Regions from separate parts of the Homo sapiens genome. Here regions 2, 3 and 4 are each linked to region 1. Evidence: promoter capture Hi-C in 16 types of primary human blood cells and fetal thymus (Javierre and others, 2016). All regions are on one chromosome and are shown on one strand. The core of a region is centred on a gene start or on the middle of the fragment in contact, and the rest is flanking DNA. Distances in the headings are between cores, read along the strand shown. Region 1 holds the start of PSMC3IP (PSMC3 interacting protein). Region 2 overlaps PTGES3L-AARSD1 (PTGES3L-AARSD1 readthrough). Region 3 has its middle 28 kb from the start of G6PC1. Region 4 has its middle 9.7 kb from the start of AOC3.

The links. Contacts are between HindIII fragments. The CHiCAGO score rates a contact against its expected background, and 5 or more counts as called.
Region 2: a fragment that was not itself captured here is called in contact with the fragment with the promoter of PSMC3IP in region 1 in 2 of 17 cell types (endothelial precursors and megakaryocytes); the score reaches 6.1 in endothelial precursors.
Region 3: a fragment that was not itself captured here is called in contact with the fragment with the promoter of PSMC3IP in region 1 in 5 of 17 cell types (megakaryocytes, erythroblasts, endothelial precursors and 2 more); the score reaches 12.4 in megakaryocytes.
Region 4: a contact is called between a fragment that was not itself captured here and the fragment with the promoter of PSMC3IP in region 1, in 1 of 17 cell types (megakaryocytes). The highest score is 5.3, in megakaryocytes.

The regions. Positions count from the first base shown.
Region 1 is chr17:42,575,557-42,579,451 of GRCh38, forward strand. PSMC3IP (PSMC3 interacting protein) reads right to left here and starts at 2,173. Exons shown (of 8, transcript NM_016556.4): 1 at 2,097-2,173; 2 at 1,905-2,005; 3 at 1,657-1,746. The coding sequence starts at 2,130. RefSeq lists a silencer at 2,085-2,134 and an enhancer at 2,435-2,524. The HindIII fragment of the contact is 6,888 bases long and covers 1-3,119 here.
Region 2 is chr17:42,950,147-42,954,041 of GRCh38, forward strand. PTGES3L-AARSD1 (PTGES3L-AARSD1 readthrough) reads right to left here. Exons shown (of 17, transcript NM_001136042.2): 15 at 3,578-3,632; 16 at 1,654-1,748; 17 at 380-582. The coding sequence ends at 447. It overlaps AARSD1 (alanyl-tRNA synthetase domain containing 1), which reads right to left. Exons shown (of 12, transcript NM_001261434.2): 10 at 3,578-3,632; 11 at 1,654-1,748; 12 at 380-582. The coding sequence ends at 447. Among named protein-coding and RNA genes, the nearest start is that of AARSD1, 12 kb to the right of the region's middle. The HindIII fragment of the contact is 8,438 bases long and covers 1-3,895 here.
Region 3 is chr17:42,927,282-42,931,176 of GRCh38, forward strand. No RefSeq gene overlaps it. Among named protein-coding and RNA genes, the nearest start is that of G6PC1, 28 kb to the left of the region's middle. RefSeq lists enhancers at 1,168-1,744, 1,634-1,783. The HindIII fragment of the contact is 1,916 bases long and covers 1,329-3,244 here.
Region 4 is chr17:42,858,908-42,862,802 of GRCh38, forward strand. No RefSeq gene overlaps it. Among named protein-coding and RNA genes, the nearest start is that of AOC3, 9.7 kb to the left of the region's middle. The HindIII fragment of the contact is 3,530 bases long and covers 485-3,895 here.

The sequences.
Region 1 (3,895 bases), core at 923-3,422:
GTGGTTTGGTTCAGTTTAACGAGTAATATCTGCTGGATGTTAGATACTGCGGAGGTGCTGATCAGATAAAAATGAATTGAGAAATGGGGTCTGCCCTAGAGGAACTTCAGTTGAATAAAGGAGACAAGTAAAAATTGTAATACAGCATGCCTCAAAAGAGGTAAGGGCCAGGCTGGGCACAGTGGCTCATGCCTGTAATCCCAGCACTTTGGGAGGCCGAGGCGGGTGGATCACGAGGTCAGGAGATCAAGACCATCCTGGCTAACACGATGAAACCCCATCTCTACTAAAAATACCAAAAAAAAAAAAAAAAAAAAATTAGGCTTCGTGGCGGGTGCCTGTAGTCCCAGCTACTCTGGGAGGCTGAGGCGGGGGAATGGCGTGAACCCAGGAGGTGGAGCTTATAGTGAGCCGAGATTGTGCCACTGCACTCCAGCCTGGGTGACAGAGCGAGACTCCGTCTCAACAACAACAACAACAACAATAACAAAAAGAGATAAGGGCCTGAAAAAGAAACAATTAGCTCGGAGCATTCAAGGAAGATTTCTGGAAAAGGTGATGTCTAAGTGAAATCCTCAAGGAAAGAAAGAGCTGGCCAGGAAGAGAAGCAGGTACAGGGAAGACAACATGCAAAGGACAGAGCAGTAAAACACACCAGAATTATCTAGTGTTCGTGGATAGAAAAATAATGAGGATTGGTGAGGCCAGAGGCTGGCTGGGGCGTCTTCCGGTGCCTTTTACATGTTTTTTGCAGCACTAGAGAGCCATTGAAGAGTTTTAAATAGGGAAGGTGCATGACCAGATCTATTTAGACAGATCATTCTGACTGCAATGTTTAAGAGTTTAAGATATGTTTGAAGAGCCAAGATCTGTTAGGAGGATACTGCAACAAATAAAGAGGGCGTGAACTAGAGCAACCATGGCAGATGGAAAGGAGAGTGGATTCAAGAATGGAAAAATTAGCCAGGCTCTGTGGTTCACGCCTGTCCTCCCAGCACTTTGGGAGGCCAAGACAGGAGGATCACTTGAGCCCAGGAGTTGGGACCAACCTGGGCAGCACAGTAAGACCCATCTCTATAAAAATTAAAAAAATAAATAAAAACGGAAAAATCAGCTGGACTTGATGGTTGACTAGTAAAGGAAGTCAAGAATTGCTCCCAATTTCTGGTTTGGGTGAAGAGTAATTCCATTAGGGGAGGAGAATGTTAGAAAGAAACCAGTCCGGGGTGGGGGGAAGATGAGGCATTCTACTGTGGCAATTTTGACTCTGATATTAATGCCTGACAGATTCCAGCTGGAGGTCTGGGCTGGAGAATATAAATTTGATATGTGTGTTTAGAGAATCGGATGGAGGCAGGAGGAACATCATTTGGCAGAGGGTGTTGCTAATGTAGATGATAAGGAATAAGAGCTTTGGAGCGGAAATGGATCTTGGTAGCAACAATACAGAATCTTCTGTCATCCATCATATTGTAAATCTGGAAACCTCGTGAAGTTGGGATCCTAACAAGAGGAGTACACACCTTGATTTAAGGATGGTGGCCTAAGACAGGTGAGTTTTCCATGGGGGGCCTTGTCCCCAAAGAGTTCACACCAGGAGTAGATTCACCCGTTGTCGGGCTCTCATGGGTGACAATCGGCGCAAGTTCTCCTCACCTGATCCGCAAAATAGATCTTCTGCTTGCCGTACATCTTCTCTTTGATCTTGCCTTGTTGCGCCAGCTGCTCCAGCGTCTTCACCACCACCTGGCAGAGGAGAGAGAAGGAGCAATCAGAGGAGTCTGAGCCTGGGTCTGGGGAAATCCAGCCAGTGATGTGGAAAACGCCCAAGGCTCCAAAGGGCACGACCCCAGCCTGAATCCAGGGAGTCCGACGGAGAGGGAATCCCGGGAGAAGGTCCTCACCGCCTTGCCCAGTCCGTGTTCCCGCTGTAGGTTCCCGAACACATCCTGGGAGCTGTAGGGCCGGTTCTGCTCCTGCAGGTACCTCAGGAGGATCCCGGCGGCTACGGAGAGAAAGGCAGGGGAGGGGGCCACTCAACCGACCTCCTCACCCACTGCCCTCCCGGGTCTTCCCCGCGCCCACGGCGCCGTTACCTCCCGCCGCAGCTTCTGCCCGGCCTTTACTCATCGCCTTTCCCGCCACCCAACTCAGAAAGCCGGACGTTGTAGTTGCTCGGGGCGACGGCTCCTTCCGGCGACGGGGGCGGGCCTCGAACGGTGATTGGCTGAAGGGGAAGCCTTCCGGAGGAGCAAAGCGACCCCTCCCGGACTCCATAGTTCATTTCAGGTCGGAACTTGCGCATTCGGGCCGGACCTCAAGCCATGGGCCTCTGCGAAGGCGCCGGCGTGCCCACGGCTAAGAAACTTCCTCTTTCTGCTCCCGGGAACGAAGGCTGTAGCAGAGAAGGCCTTCAAGTTTCGAGACCCAGTTCCAGCCGCAGCTGAGCACTGGTGACCTTGAATTAAGTCTAATGTTGGGATTGGAAGACGCTTCAGACATCCGCTGCCGCCCTGGGCAAGCGACCAGCTCAAGGTTACCCCACAGGGACGTGCTCTGGTCCCACGGTCCAGTGCTCTTTTGTCGGTTAGTTTTGTCATTTGTAAAATAGGAACAGTAGATAGTGGTAGGAAAGTGGTTGTGAAAACTTAATAGAAAGCTAAGCGCCTTGGTCGGGCGCAGTGGCATGTCACCCCTGCAATTCTATCACTTTGGGAGGCTGAGGCGGGCGGATCGTTTGAGCCCAGGAATTCGAAACCAGTCTGGGCAATATGAAACCCCATCTCTGCAAATAAAGTACAAAAAATTAAGAGTGGTGGCGCGCTTCTGTGGTCCCAGCTACTCTGGAGGCTGAGGTGGGAGGGTCACCAGAGCCCCGGACATCGAGGCTGCAGTGAGCCACTATGAGCGCGCCACTGCACCCCATCCTGGCGACAGAGCGAGACGCAGTCTCGAACAAAAAAAAAAAAAGTGGGAAGGGGGGACAGCTAAGCGCCTTGGAGAGCAACCACCCTTATTTGCCTAATACCGAGCTTCGCACCCAGGGGGCACTCGACACCTACTGTAGTTTGGACGCCAAGGAACGATAGGGTTAGGAGGGGGCTACTGTTCAACCACAAAGCTTGTGGAAAAGTTTGTTAGCCCAGACAATCTCAGGGCAACACCTGGCAGGTGCTTTCCACCCCTGACCACAGTGGCCAATGGGACAGAGCCTGAAATAAATATTTCTAGTTTCTGAGGTGAGCTGAAGGCCAAAGAGCAGCTGTCCCTGCAGCTCAGACCATCCAGTGAAGGAGTAAGGTGCTACTTTTTAAAGCCTTCTGCTACCTACAACCTCCTTAGCCTTTAAAACGTGTGCTTGTCTCTGCACGTTTAGGAGACAATATTAAGAATTAGAAATGAAAGGGCCGAGCGCGGTGGCTCACGCCTGCAATCCCAGCACTTTGGGAGGCCAGGGCGGGCGGATCACGAGGTCAGGAGATCGAGACCATCCTGGCTAACACTGTGAAACCCCATCTCTACTAAAAATACAAAAAATTAGCCAGGCGTGCTGGTGGGCGCCTGTAGTCCAAGCTACTCAGGAGGCTGAGGCAGGAGAATGGCGTGAACCCGGGAGGCGGAGCTTGCAGTGAGAGATCGCACCACTGCACTCCAGCCTGGGCGACAGACCAAGACTCCGTCTCAGGAAAAAAAAAGAAATTAGAAATGAAGGAAATACAGGCTAAATACTAGCCAAGAGTGCCAGTTATACTGATGGTGGGGCTCTCACAAGAAGGAAAGTAGCCTCATACTATGGTGATGTTCTGGCCATCACGAAGTAAAAATAGGGGTGGGCTGGTGGGTCCCTCATACCTGGGCTTCCTCTTTTAAGGCTATCACTTCAAATTAATCAGAA
Region 2 (3,895 bases), core at 1,003-3,502, 370 kb after region 1:
AGGCTGAGGCAGGAAAATCCCTTCAACCCGGGAGGCAGAGGTTGCAGTGAGCTGAGATCACACCACTATATCCAGCCTGGGCAACAAAGCAAGAGTCCATCTCAGGGGGTGGGGCGGTAGGGGCGGGAAAAAGCCATGTGCCTTTGTGGATTATAACAAAATTATGGGAGCAGTGGACTCAGCTGATCAGATGTTCATTTCTTATCCAACTGAGTGCAAAAGCACAAGGTTTGGTATAAATTAATCCACCACCTTCTAAACATTACAGTGCATGAACTAAATTAGAAAATTATCTATTTATAAACGGAAAGTAACCACACAAGCACAATGGAGTATACAGTACGAATTAGTCATATAAATACAAGTGGTAGCGCAACCATTCTGAGTCAATCTATTTTATTGACCAAAAGATTCCTGTGGAAACAGGAGGTGAGTGCCCTAAGCCCTCACTCCTTAGCACTCTGCGTGCTGATGTAGTCCTGGAGAAGCGCCTGCGCCTCCATCCGCCGGCTCATCTTGGTGGCCTTGCCCTGAAAACGGCCTTTCTTCCCTGCTCCTTTGCCTTCCAGGACCTCAGCCACCCTGGGGAACAGAGGTATAGTCAGGGAGACTTTGAGGGAAAAGTCACAAAAAAAAACAAGGGCAGCTCTGAGTCTTTTTCCAGGGACTGGGAGAGGGATAAGAAGAGTAGATGACTTCTAGGAATCTTTCTTGAAAACACTTGCACATAGGCTGGGCATGGTGGCTCACACCTGTAATCCCAGCACTTTGGGAGGCCAAAGTGGGTGGATCACCTGAGGTCAGGACTTCAAGACCAGCCTGACCAATAGGATGAAACCCCGTCTCTACTAAAAATAAAAAAATCAGCCGGGCATGGTGGTATGCGCCATAATCCCAGCTACTCAGGAAGCTGAGACAGGAGAATTGCTTGAACCCGGGAGGCAGAGGTTGCAGTGAGCCGAGATGGTGCCATTGCACTCCAGCCTGGGCAACAAGAGTGAAACTTTGTCTCAAAAAAACACTTGCACATATGCACAAAGATATATGTACCATCATCACATAAGAGTGAATAACTGGAAACAACATCAGTGTCTATGAATTGGGCTAGATAAATTATGTTAATCTCCAGAGAGCAGGGTGAGCACCTGTAATCCCAGCACTTTGGGAGGGCAAGGCAGGTGGATCACTTGAGGTCAGGAGTTCGAGACCAGCCTGGCCAACATGGTGAAACCCTATCTGTACTAAAAATACAAAAAATTGGACGGGTATGGTTATGTGCACCTGTAATCCCAGCTACTTGAGTGGCTGAGGCAGGAAAATTGCTTAAACCTGGGAGGTGGTGGCTGCAGTGAGCTGAGTAGCCTGGGCTCTCCAGGCTGGGCAACAGACTAAGACTCCATCTCAAAAAACAAAAACAAACACATTTCATAAAAACAAAAACAAAAACATACATGTGAGATGTGGAGCCAAAAGACCTTCAACTGTCAAACTGGAAATGACAGTAGTAATAATTATCTCTGCTCAGCCCACCTCACATGCCCATGATGTGAATTAAATGAGATCGCAGATGTGATGGTCCTTTGACTCAGTAAAGGAATGTATTTGTAGGATACAGGCTCTACTACATGTGCAAGAGAGTCCACAAAGAATTACCTGGGCCCCAGGGTCTCCACAGACGCAGGTGGCCCTGCCAGTAAGAAGAGTCCACCACCTTTCTCATCGCCCACAGTTAAGAACAGGAGGGTCTCCTAGGAGGTAAGACAAGGAGATAAGCTCTGATACTGAAGGATGTAGAGTCAACCCCCCAAATCCTGCACTCTCTTCAATCTTAAGAATAGATTATTTCCCCCTAAACCACCAAGTGACGCTCCTGATGAATGATGATACAGCCCCTCCACACTGGCCCACGAGGGCCAAGAAACTTTTTGAGAGCAACTATGGGAACTTAGGTGAAACATTAAGAAGGCAGCAGAAGACTGCTGATCCTGGCTAAGCAGAAAATGCCTTTCATGGTTTCACTCTTGCAAACTTTTCCCCACCACACATCCTTTCCCTGCCACTGCCTAAACCACCAGGTTTCCCTCTGCCTGGCCGCCTCTGCCCCTTGTCTGTCTGATGACCTCTAAGCAGTCTTCAAGGGCCCCTCCCCTGAAACCTCCCTATCCTTCAGGTAATGTGCTCCTCCACCTCTAGCATTCATCACTCTATCATTCTGAATTATAAATGTCGACATACATATTTGTCTCCCAGACTAGAATATGAGCTTCTTGAGAATCAGTTCTGTCTATACAGAAGAATTATGAAAAGAGAGATACACAACGCTTTACCCACAGTAGGCATTCCAAAGAAGGGTTCTGGAGTAAATACAAAAGAGATAGTGGGGCATGGTGGCTCATGCTTGCAGTCCCAACTACTCAGGAGGCTGACGTGGGAGGACTGCTTGAGCCCAGGAGTTCAAGACTGCAGTGAGCCATAATCACGCCACTGTACTCCAGCCTGGGTGACAGAGCAAGACTCTGTCTCTGAAAAAAACAAACAAACAAACAAACAAACAAAAGACCTGGAAATCTCTAGGCTAGAGACCATCAGGAGTGGGAAGAGTAAGTAAAGCCAGAGGAAGAGGAAAATGGACGGGGATGGCTTTCAAAGGGGCTTGCCCACTCCTGTATTTACTTTTTTTTTTTTTTTTTGGAGACAGTCTGTGTTGCCCAGGCTGGAGTGCAGTGGCGCAATCTCGGCTCACTGCAACCTCAGCCTCCAGGGTTCAAGCAATTCTCCTGCCTCAACCTCCCAAGTAGCTGGGTCTACAGGCACCTGCCACCACACCCAGCAAATTTTTGTCTTCTGTTTTGAGACAGAATCTCACTCTGTAGCCCATGCTAGAGTGCTGTGGCACAATCTCAGCTCACTGCAACCTCTGCCTACCAGGCTCAAGAGATTCTCATGCCTCAGCCTCCCGAGTAGCTGGGATTACAGGCGCATGCCACCACGCCTAGCTAATTTTTTGTATTTTAGTAGAGATAGGGTTTTACCATGTTGCCCAGGGTGGTCTCGAACTCCTGAGCTGAGGCAATCCACCCGCCTCAGCCTCCCAAAGTGCTGGAATTACAGGCGTGAGCCACCATGCCTGGCCTGATTTTTCTATTTTTAGTAGAGATGGGGTTTCACCATGTTGGCTAGGCTGGTCTCCTGATCTTAAGTGATCCACCCACCTTGGCCTCCCAAAGTGCTGGGATTACATGCGTGAGCCACCGCGACCAGCCCACTGATATATTTCTAATATTGGATCCCCAGCACACATAAACCTGAATGGCTTTGAGGAGCTAGAGCTCTGATGAAAGGAGCTCAGAAGCTAATAAACATCACAGCCCCAGAGAGAGCAATAACATAGATCTAGCTCAACACCTAAAACAGAGCTTGGCATATAGCTAGTACTAAGAAAACAGTATTGAATGAATGGCTATTTCCTCCTCCTCATGTGTTCATGTGGAGGGACTTTGGCTAAACTAGCGCCCCTCACTTATGTCTCCCTAGGTCTCTATCCAGGCCGGGGTAGAGAATCTCATGCTCCTCTTACCTCTGACCCAATCTCATTGGCAATGATATTCATGAACTCTGAATCACCCTCCTTCCTACAACAAAGGACACAGACATGAGACCCAGGTTGGAGTGGTGGCTGTGAAACTGCAGGAAGCCTGGCCCCTCCTTCTGAGGCTGGCCTTGCTGCCTATGTACACATAAAGTCCCATATCCCTTAGCCAAGAGAGAGTACTGGCTGAAAGCCAGCAAGCTGCCCTTCTCAGCCTCTGCAGTTTGTAATCAACCTCCAGGTTTGTTTCCATCTCCCTTAAATAGGATTCACCAGGATAAGCAGAAATCTGTTAGAGAGTAAAGG
Region 3 (3,895 bases), core at 1,037-3,536, 350 kb after region 1:
ACCTTGAAAACATTATACTAAGTGAAAGAAGCAAGGCACAAAAGATCACATACCATATAATTCCATTTATAGAAATGTCCAGAATCGGCAAATCCATAGAGACAGAAAGTAGATTGGTGGTTGCCTAAGGCTAGATGTTTGGGGGAAATGGAGAGTGACTGCTGAAGGCTGCAGGGTTTTTTTTTTAGGGTGACGAAAATGTTCTCAAATTGACTGTGGTTATGTACAACTCTGTGAATATACTAAAAACCAATGAATTGTATTTTTTTCTTTTTTTAATTTCTTTCTTTTTTTTTTTTTTTTTTGAGAGAGTCTCACTCTATTACCCAGGCTGGAGCACGGTGGCATGGTCATAGCTCACTGCAGCCTCAACCTCCTGGGCTCAAGAGATCCTCCCAACTTAGCCTCCAGAGTAGTTGGGAATACAGGTAGATACCACAATGCCTGGGTAACTTTTTAATTTTTCATAGAGATGAAGTTGCACTGTGTTGCTCAGGCTGATCTCAAACTCCTGGCCTCAAGCAATCCTCCCACCTTGGCTTCCCAAAGTGCTGGGATTATAGGCATGAGCCACCATGCCCGGCTGAATTGTACATTATTTATTTATTTTATTTTATTTTTTTGAGACAGAGTTTTGCTCTCATCCCCCAGGCTGGAGTGCAATGGTGTGATCTCAGGTCACTGCAACTTCCGCCTCCCAGGTTCAATCAATTCTCCTGCCTCAGCCTCCCGAGTAGCTGGGATTACAGGCACCCACCACCACACCAGGCTAATTTTTATATTTTTAGTAGAGATGGCGTTTCACAATGTTGGCCAGGCTGGTCTCAAACTCCTGACTTCAAGTGATCCACCCACCTTGGCCTCCCAAAGTGCTGGGATTACAGGTGTGAGCCACCGCACCCCAGCCACAGCATTTCTTTTCTTTTCTTTTCTTTTTTTTTTCTTTTTGAGATGGAGTCTCTCTCTGTTGCCCCAGACTGGAGTGCAGTGGCGCAATCTCAGCTCACTGCAACCTCCACCTCCTGGATTCAAGTGATTCTCCTGCCTCAGCCTCCCAAGTAGCTGGGATTACAGGCATGTGCCACCATACCCAACTAATTGTATTTTTAGTAGAGACGGGGTTTCAGTATGTTGGCCAGGCTGGTCTTGAACTCCTGGCCTCAAGTGATCCACCTGTCTCTGCTTCCCAAAGTGCTGGGATTACAGGCATGAGCTACCTCAACTGGCTACCAAATTGTGCATTTTAAATGTGTGAATTTTGTGGTGTGTGAATTATATCTCAATAATGCTCTTACCAAAAAAAAAAAAATCTTTATATGGCCTCTGAAAGCTTACCTCAGCTGGACCTTGTCTACCGCACCTCACCTGGTCTCCTTCACCTCATTCCACAAAGCACAGCCAATGTCATCTTGGTTCCTCCAATGCAACACACTCCAGCCCTCCTCCGAGCTTGGGCTTTTACACACCCCCCTTCTTAGAACACTCTTCTGCCTCTTCACATAATTCAGTCCTCCACATTGGTATCACTTTCTCAAGGAAGCCTCCCTGCCCACCCACCATGAGTCATGATCAAGTTCCTCTTCTGGGCCTGCCAAAGCACCCCTTTTACTTTGCTCTCTACCAAACGTCACTTTGTGATTATTTGGATCATGTCCGTCTTCCCCACTAGACTAGGCCCCATGAGTGCAGCTCCATGCCTGCTTTGCTCACTCTTGCACTTAAACCCTGTGCCTAGCCCTGGCCTAACACATGAGGAGGACTCCAGATATCTTGGTTGAATAATAAATGAGCAATATATTACTGTTTGCCCCTAACTTGGAAAACAAATGATAGGTTCAACAATTCTAGAGCTCCACAAATGACTCAGCAAAAACATGTTCGGAGGCACTCCCAACGTGAAATTAGAAGGTTGGAAACTCAGAGGACGGGACAGGCTTAGATAGAAACATTGGCCTCTTCCCAGGTAAGTTCTCCCCAGGAGGTGGGGAGCAAACTCTCTGAGCAGCCAGTTACAGGGAACTCATGACTAAGCTCTGTTGCTGTTTATCAAGATACACACTGACTCTCAGAAGTTCTAGCGTGAACCAAATCCTGCTTCAACCCCATGGGCTTTCAGTGTAGGACTTTTTCTTTTTGTTGGTGATCACACACCCTACTGGTGGCTTAACCAATTACATTGCCTCAGCCCCTGTGACACTCCAGCTCCGCGTCCCCTTTATGATGCTTCAAATATCATAAAAGCAGAGAAAAATCATATGTCATATATCAGAAAATCATATATCAACTTTTTTTTATTTTGAGGTCTTTCACACACTGAACTTATTTTAATCATAATTGTCAATTATAAATAAACATAATTACTATGTTCCTTTTTTGATGTCAAATTGTTGCAATTTGGACAGTGGCTTCCTTATCCTTCTACCATTGCTGGCCTAAAATCCTTGTGTTCTAGGCCCATTCCAAATTTTCCTTGTTCCAAGACACAGAATCAGCCACCCACTAAGAAGTCTCATTTCCTTTTGATGGGTGCACGAGAGTGGGAGGTTAGCAGAAGAAATGCTGTTAATGGGCTAGGTGCAGTGGCCTAGCCTGTAATCCCAACACTTTGGAAGGCTGAGGCAGGAGGATCACCTGAGGTCAGGAGTTCGAGACCAGCCTGGCCAACATGGGGAAACCCCATATCTACTAAAAATACAAAAAATTAGCTGGGCGTGGTGGTGTGTGCCTGTAATCCCAGCTACTCAGGAGGCTGAGCCAGGAGAATTGCTTGAACCCAGGAGGCGGAGGTTGCAGTGAGCTGAGATCATGCCACTGCACTCCAGCCTGGGCAACAGAGAGAGACTTCATCTCAAAAAGGAAAAAAAAAAAAAGAAGAAGGAAAAGAAATGCTGTGGCCAGGGCATGGTGGCTCACGCCTGTAATCCCAGTACTTTGGGAGGCTGAGGCAGGTGGATCATGAGGTCAGGAGCTCAAGACCAGCTTGGCCATTATGGTGAAACCCCATCTCTACTAAAAATACAAAAATTAGGCAGATGCCTATAATCCCAGCTACTCAGGAGGCTGAGGGAGGAGAATCACTTGAACCTGGGAGGCAGAGGTTCAGTGAGCCAAGATTGAGCCACTACAGTCCAGCCTGGCAACAGAGCGAGACTCCATTTCAAAAAAAGAAAAAAGAAAAAGAAAAAGAAATGCTGTTAATGAACTGTATTTTAGGGTCAGAGCCAGGAAATTATATTTCTCTTAAAGCTTATGGGTTCACAATAATGTTTCCAATTGAACTCTATGTTGTAATTTTTTATTCAATATAAAATATTTTCAGGCCAGGCCCGGTGGCTCATGCCTGCAATCCCAACACTAGAAGGCAAGACGGGAGAATTGCTTGAGACCCAGAGTTCAGGACCAGCCTGGGTAACATACCGCAACCCCCTCTCTATAAAAGAAAAAAAAGATATAATTGTTTTCATTTATTTTATCTGCAATATTCCTGCATAGAGATTTAATCTTCACCCTCACTATAATTGCATTTCCTTTACTAGCCCTCATTTGCCTTGCCAACCGCCATTATACCGTCCCTTTGCTGATGGTGATGTCTGTTGGCTTGGTCTCCTTGTTCTGGTTGACCAGACTATCCTCCTGTTATAAACAGCAGGAAACACAACCCCAAAACACACATACACACACACTGGAAGCCTACATGAATTTCACATGCATCGTTTGAGGCAGCCTCCTGAGAGCCAGTCATCCTTCCAAGACAGTGACTGCTTCGGGAGTAAAATCATAACTGAGAGAGTCTCAGGGAACTTTGTTGTTGTTTTACTGAGTTGACATTTGGGAAGTTTAAGGTCTTTATTGCTCTGACAGAGTATTTTAACTTAATTTTTTTTGTTGAGACAGA
Region 4 (3,895 bases), core at 1,000-3,499, 280 kb after region 1:
CCCAGACTGGAGTGCAATGGCACGCTCTCGGCTCACTGCAACCTCCATCTCCCGGGTTCAAGCGATTCTCCTGTCTCAGCCTCCTGAGTAGCTGGGATTACAGGTGCTGCCACCACGCCCGGCTAATTTTGTATTTTTAGTAGAGACGGGGTTTCACTATGTTGGCCAGGCTGGTCTCGAACTCCTGACCTAAGGTGATCTGCCTGCCTTGGCCTCCCAAAGTGTTGAGATTACAGGTGTGAGCCACTGCACCCGGCCTGAACTTCTCATTTCAATGCATATCCTCTTGTCCCCACCTCCTTACGGCTCTTTCTTATGGCTACTTGCACCATCATCAGTGCTGGGGGAAGGGGAGCAAAGGAATTCAGATATCCACCCCCGCACCCTCACCATCTTGTTCACTGGAATTTAGTTGCCTTGAAACCCATCTCCAGACCAAAGTGTTTGTATGTGTTGTGTGTGTAGTTGTATGTCAATTCTCACAAGCTTTTATATGAAAACGTGACTGGTTGTGTCTGCTTCCTTATATCTCAGCATGGTGATGATGCCACCTGCCCCAGGCCCCAGATGAGGGGAGGCAGAATGGACATCTAGATTGTTAGAACATCAGTTCAGCTCGGGTCAGGAGGGCCGCAAGGTGGACCTCCAGCCCCACACCCCAATCCAATCTCTTCCTTAGACCACAGAAGTTGTCTGGAGTCTTGGCTTCAGACTTGTGGTCAATTGTCTAGGAGTGATTACTGGCTGAGGATGTCAGGTTCTGAAGGAACTGGTGCTGCCAAGGCTCAGATCTTCAGGACTTGGGGCCCAGTGGCCTGAGATAAAGGAGTTGGACAAGGGAATCCCTGAGGCTTGGGTCAGAGGGCATGACTAGGACTTCTCCAGGAATGTGAACATGGCAACCCCCTGTGAGGACATGAGGTGTGCCCACTCGCCTCACCTCTTTTATTTTTTTTATTTTGAGATGGAATTTCACTCTTGTCGCCCAGGCTGGCGTGCAATGGCATGATCTTGGCTCACTGCAACCTCCACTTCCCGGGTTCAAGTGATTCTCCTGCCTTAGACTCCTGAGTAGCTGGTATTACAGGCACCTGCCACTACGCCCGGCTAATTTTGTAGTTTTAGTAGAGACGGGGTTTCACCATGTTGGCCAGGTTGGTCTCGAACTCCTGACCTCAAGTGATCCGCCTGCCTTGGCCTCTCAAAGTGCTGGGATTACAGGTGTGAGCCACAGCACCCGGCCCCCAGTGACTTCTTAAACACAAAATCAACAGGAGCTCCTGGCCGCCTACTTTCTGGACCTCTCGGTGGCGTTTGACAACACCAACTGTCCTCCCTCTTGGAACCCTCTCCCATCTTGACTCTCCCACATTGTCCCCTTTTCATCCATATTTGCTCCTTCTCAGTCTTCTCAGGCTCCTTGACTTCTGCTCCCCCTACCTACTCATGGAGCCCCAAGCTCTTGCCTTTTCTAGGGTTCTGTCCTTGGTCCTCCTTTCTCCTCTCTCCAGAAGTCCTCTGTGGGTGATCTCAGCCTTTCTTTCTTTCTTTTTTTCTTTTCTTCTTTCTTTTTCTTTTTTTCCCCCCTTAAGAAAAGGTCTTGCTCTGTCACCCAGGCTGGAGTGCAGTGGTACCACCATGGCTCACTGCAGCCTCAACCTCCCAGACTGAAGCGATCCTCCCACCTCAGCCTCCCGAGCAGCTGGAATTACAGGCGTGTGCCACCATGCCTGGCTAATTAAAAAAAATTTTTTGTAGGCCAGGCGCGGTGGCTCATGCCTGTAATTGGAGCACTTTGGGAGGCCGAGGCAGGTGGATCACCTGAGGTCAGGAGTTCAAGACCAGCCTGGCCAACGTGATGAAACCCCATCTCTACTAAAAATACAAAAAATTAGCTGGGCATGGTGGCGGGTGCCTGTAATCCCAGCTACTCCGGAGGCTGAGGCAGGAGAATCGCTTGAACCTGGGAGGTGGAGGTTGCAGTGAGCCGAGATCACATCACTGCACTCCAGCCTAGGCAACAAGAGTGAAACTTTGTCTCAAAAAAAAATTTTTTTTGTAGAGACCATGTCTCGCTCTGTTGCCTGGTCTCAAACTCCTGGGCTCAAGTGATCCTCCCACCTCAGCCTCCCAAAGTGCTGGGATTACAGGTGTAAGCCACCACGCCCAGCCAGCCTTTCTTACTTTAACTGTCAATATTTGTCATTGGCCAAATCTCTTTCTACACGTATGTTTTTGGTGTTTTGTTTTGTTTTTGAGAGAGGTTCTCACTGTATTGCCCAGGCTTCAGTGTAGGGGTGCAATCTTGGCTCACTGCAAACTCCACCCTGTGGGCTCAAGTGATCCTCCCACTTCAGCCTCCCAAGAAGCTGGGACCACAGGCATGCACCACTATACCTGGCTAATTTTTTATATTTTTGGTAGATAGGGTTTTGCCATGTTGCCCAGGCTGGTCTTGAACTCCTGAGCTCAAGGAATCTGCCCATCTTGGCCTCTCAAAGTGCTAGGATTACAGGTATGAGCCACCACGCCAGCCTATATATATATGTATTTTTTAAGTTATTGTAGAGATGAGGCCTTGCTATGTTGCCCAGAGTGGTCTTGGACTCCTGGGCTCAAGCCATTCTCCTGTCTCTTCCTCACAAAGTGCTGGAATTACAGGCATGAGGCACCACACTCAACCAAAATAAATCTTTTCTCTGTTTTTTCTTTTTTTAGTGACAAGGTCTTGCTCTGTCACCTAGGCTGAAGTGCAGTGGCACAATCATAGTTTATTGCAGCCTTGAACTCCTGGGCTCAAGCAATCCTCCCGCCTCACCCTCCCAAGTAGCTAGGATGTGCCTGGCTAATTTTTTTTTAATTTTTTGTAGAGATCTCTATATTGTCCAAGCTGGTCTTGAACTCCTAGGCTCATGTGATTCTCGACTCTTGGCATCCCAAAATGAAGGGATTACAGGTGTGAGCTGCTGCACCTGGTCAACATTAGTTGTCTTTTTTTTTCTTTTGAGACAGAGTCTCGCTCTGTCACCCAGGCTGGAGTGCCGTGGTGTGATCTCAGCTCACTGCAACTTCTGCCTCCCAGGTTGAAGCAATTCTCCTGCCTCAGCCTCCTGAGTAGCTGGGATTACAGGTGCCCACCACCATGCCCAGTTAATTTTTGTATTTTTCGTAGAGATGGGGTTTCACCATGTTGGTCAGTCTGTTCTTGAACCTTTGACCTCAAGTGATCTGCCCATCTTGGCCTCCCAAAGTGCTGGGATTACAGGCGTGAGCCACTGTGCCCAGCCCCAACATTAGTTGTCTTAATGGCATGTTCTTAGCCAAGAGCTGGAGGTAACTTCCCCGCTATTGACCATAACCTACCAAAGGACCAGACACAAGTTCCCTGGCTGGGATGGATTGCCTTGTGGCTAGGCCTTGACATTAGATTTTATTTCCTTTATCCTAAAGGTCACACAACTGTTGCAGGACACAGAGGACTAGAGAGACTAGTATGGGTGAATACAGGAGGATATTTATTAGGTGTGTACCAGCTCAGTGGACTCACAGCTAAAAAGCTGAGCACTGAACAAAGACAGAGTTTAGCTTATACAGGCTAGTACACAGAAACAGGACAAAGGCAGTAAACTATGTAGTGACAAGTCACATAATCTATAGCATAACTGTTGACTTGGCATAACTTGTAAAACAGAAACTTATAAATTTTACTGAATACAAGTGTTGGCAAACATAGTCATAATTAATTATTTAAAGGGGAGACAGCAAAGGAATTTGTTCTTCTTTTAACTTTGCTCGGGGGTGTCTGGAGCCTATTTCTGCAGGCTAGGTCACCATGACCTGTCTATAGCCTTGCCTACAGTAGAAGAAAACTTCTGTTTTTCATTTAACCTTTACT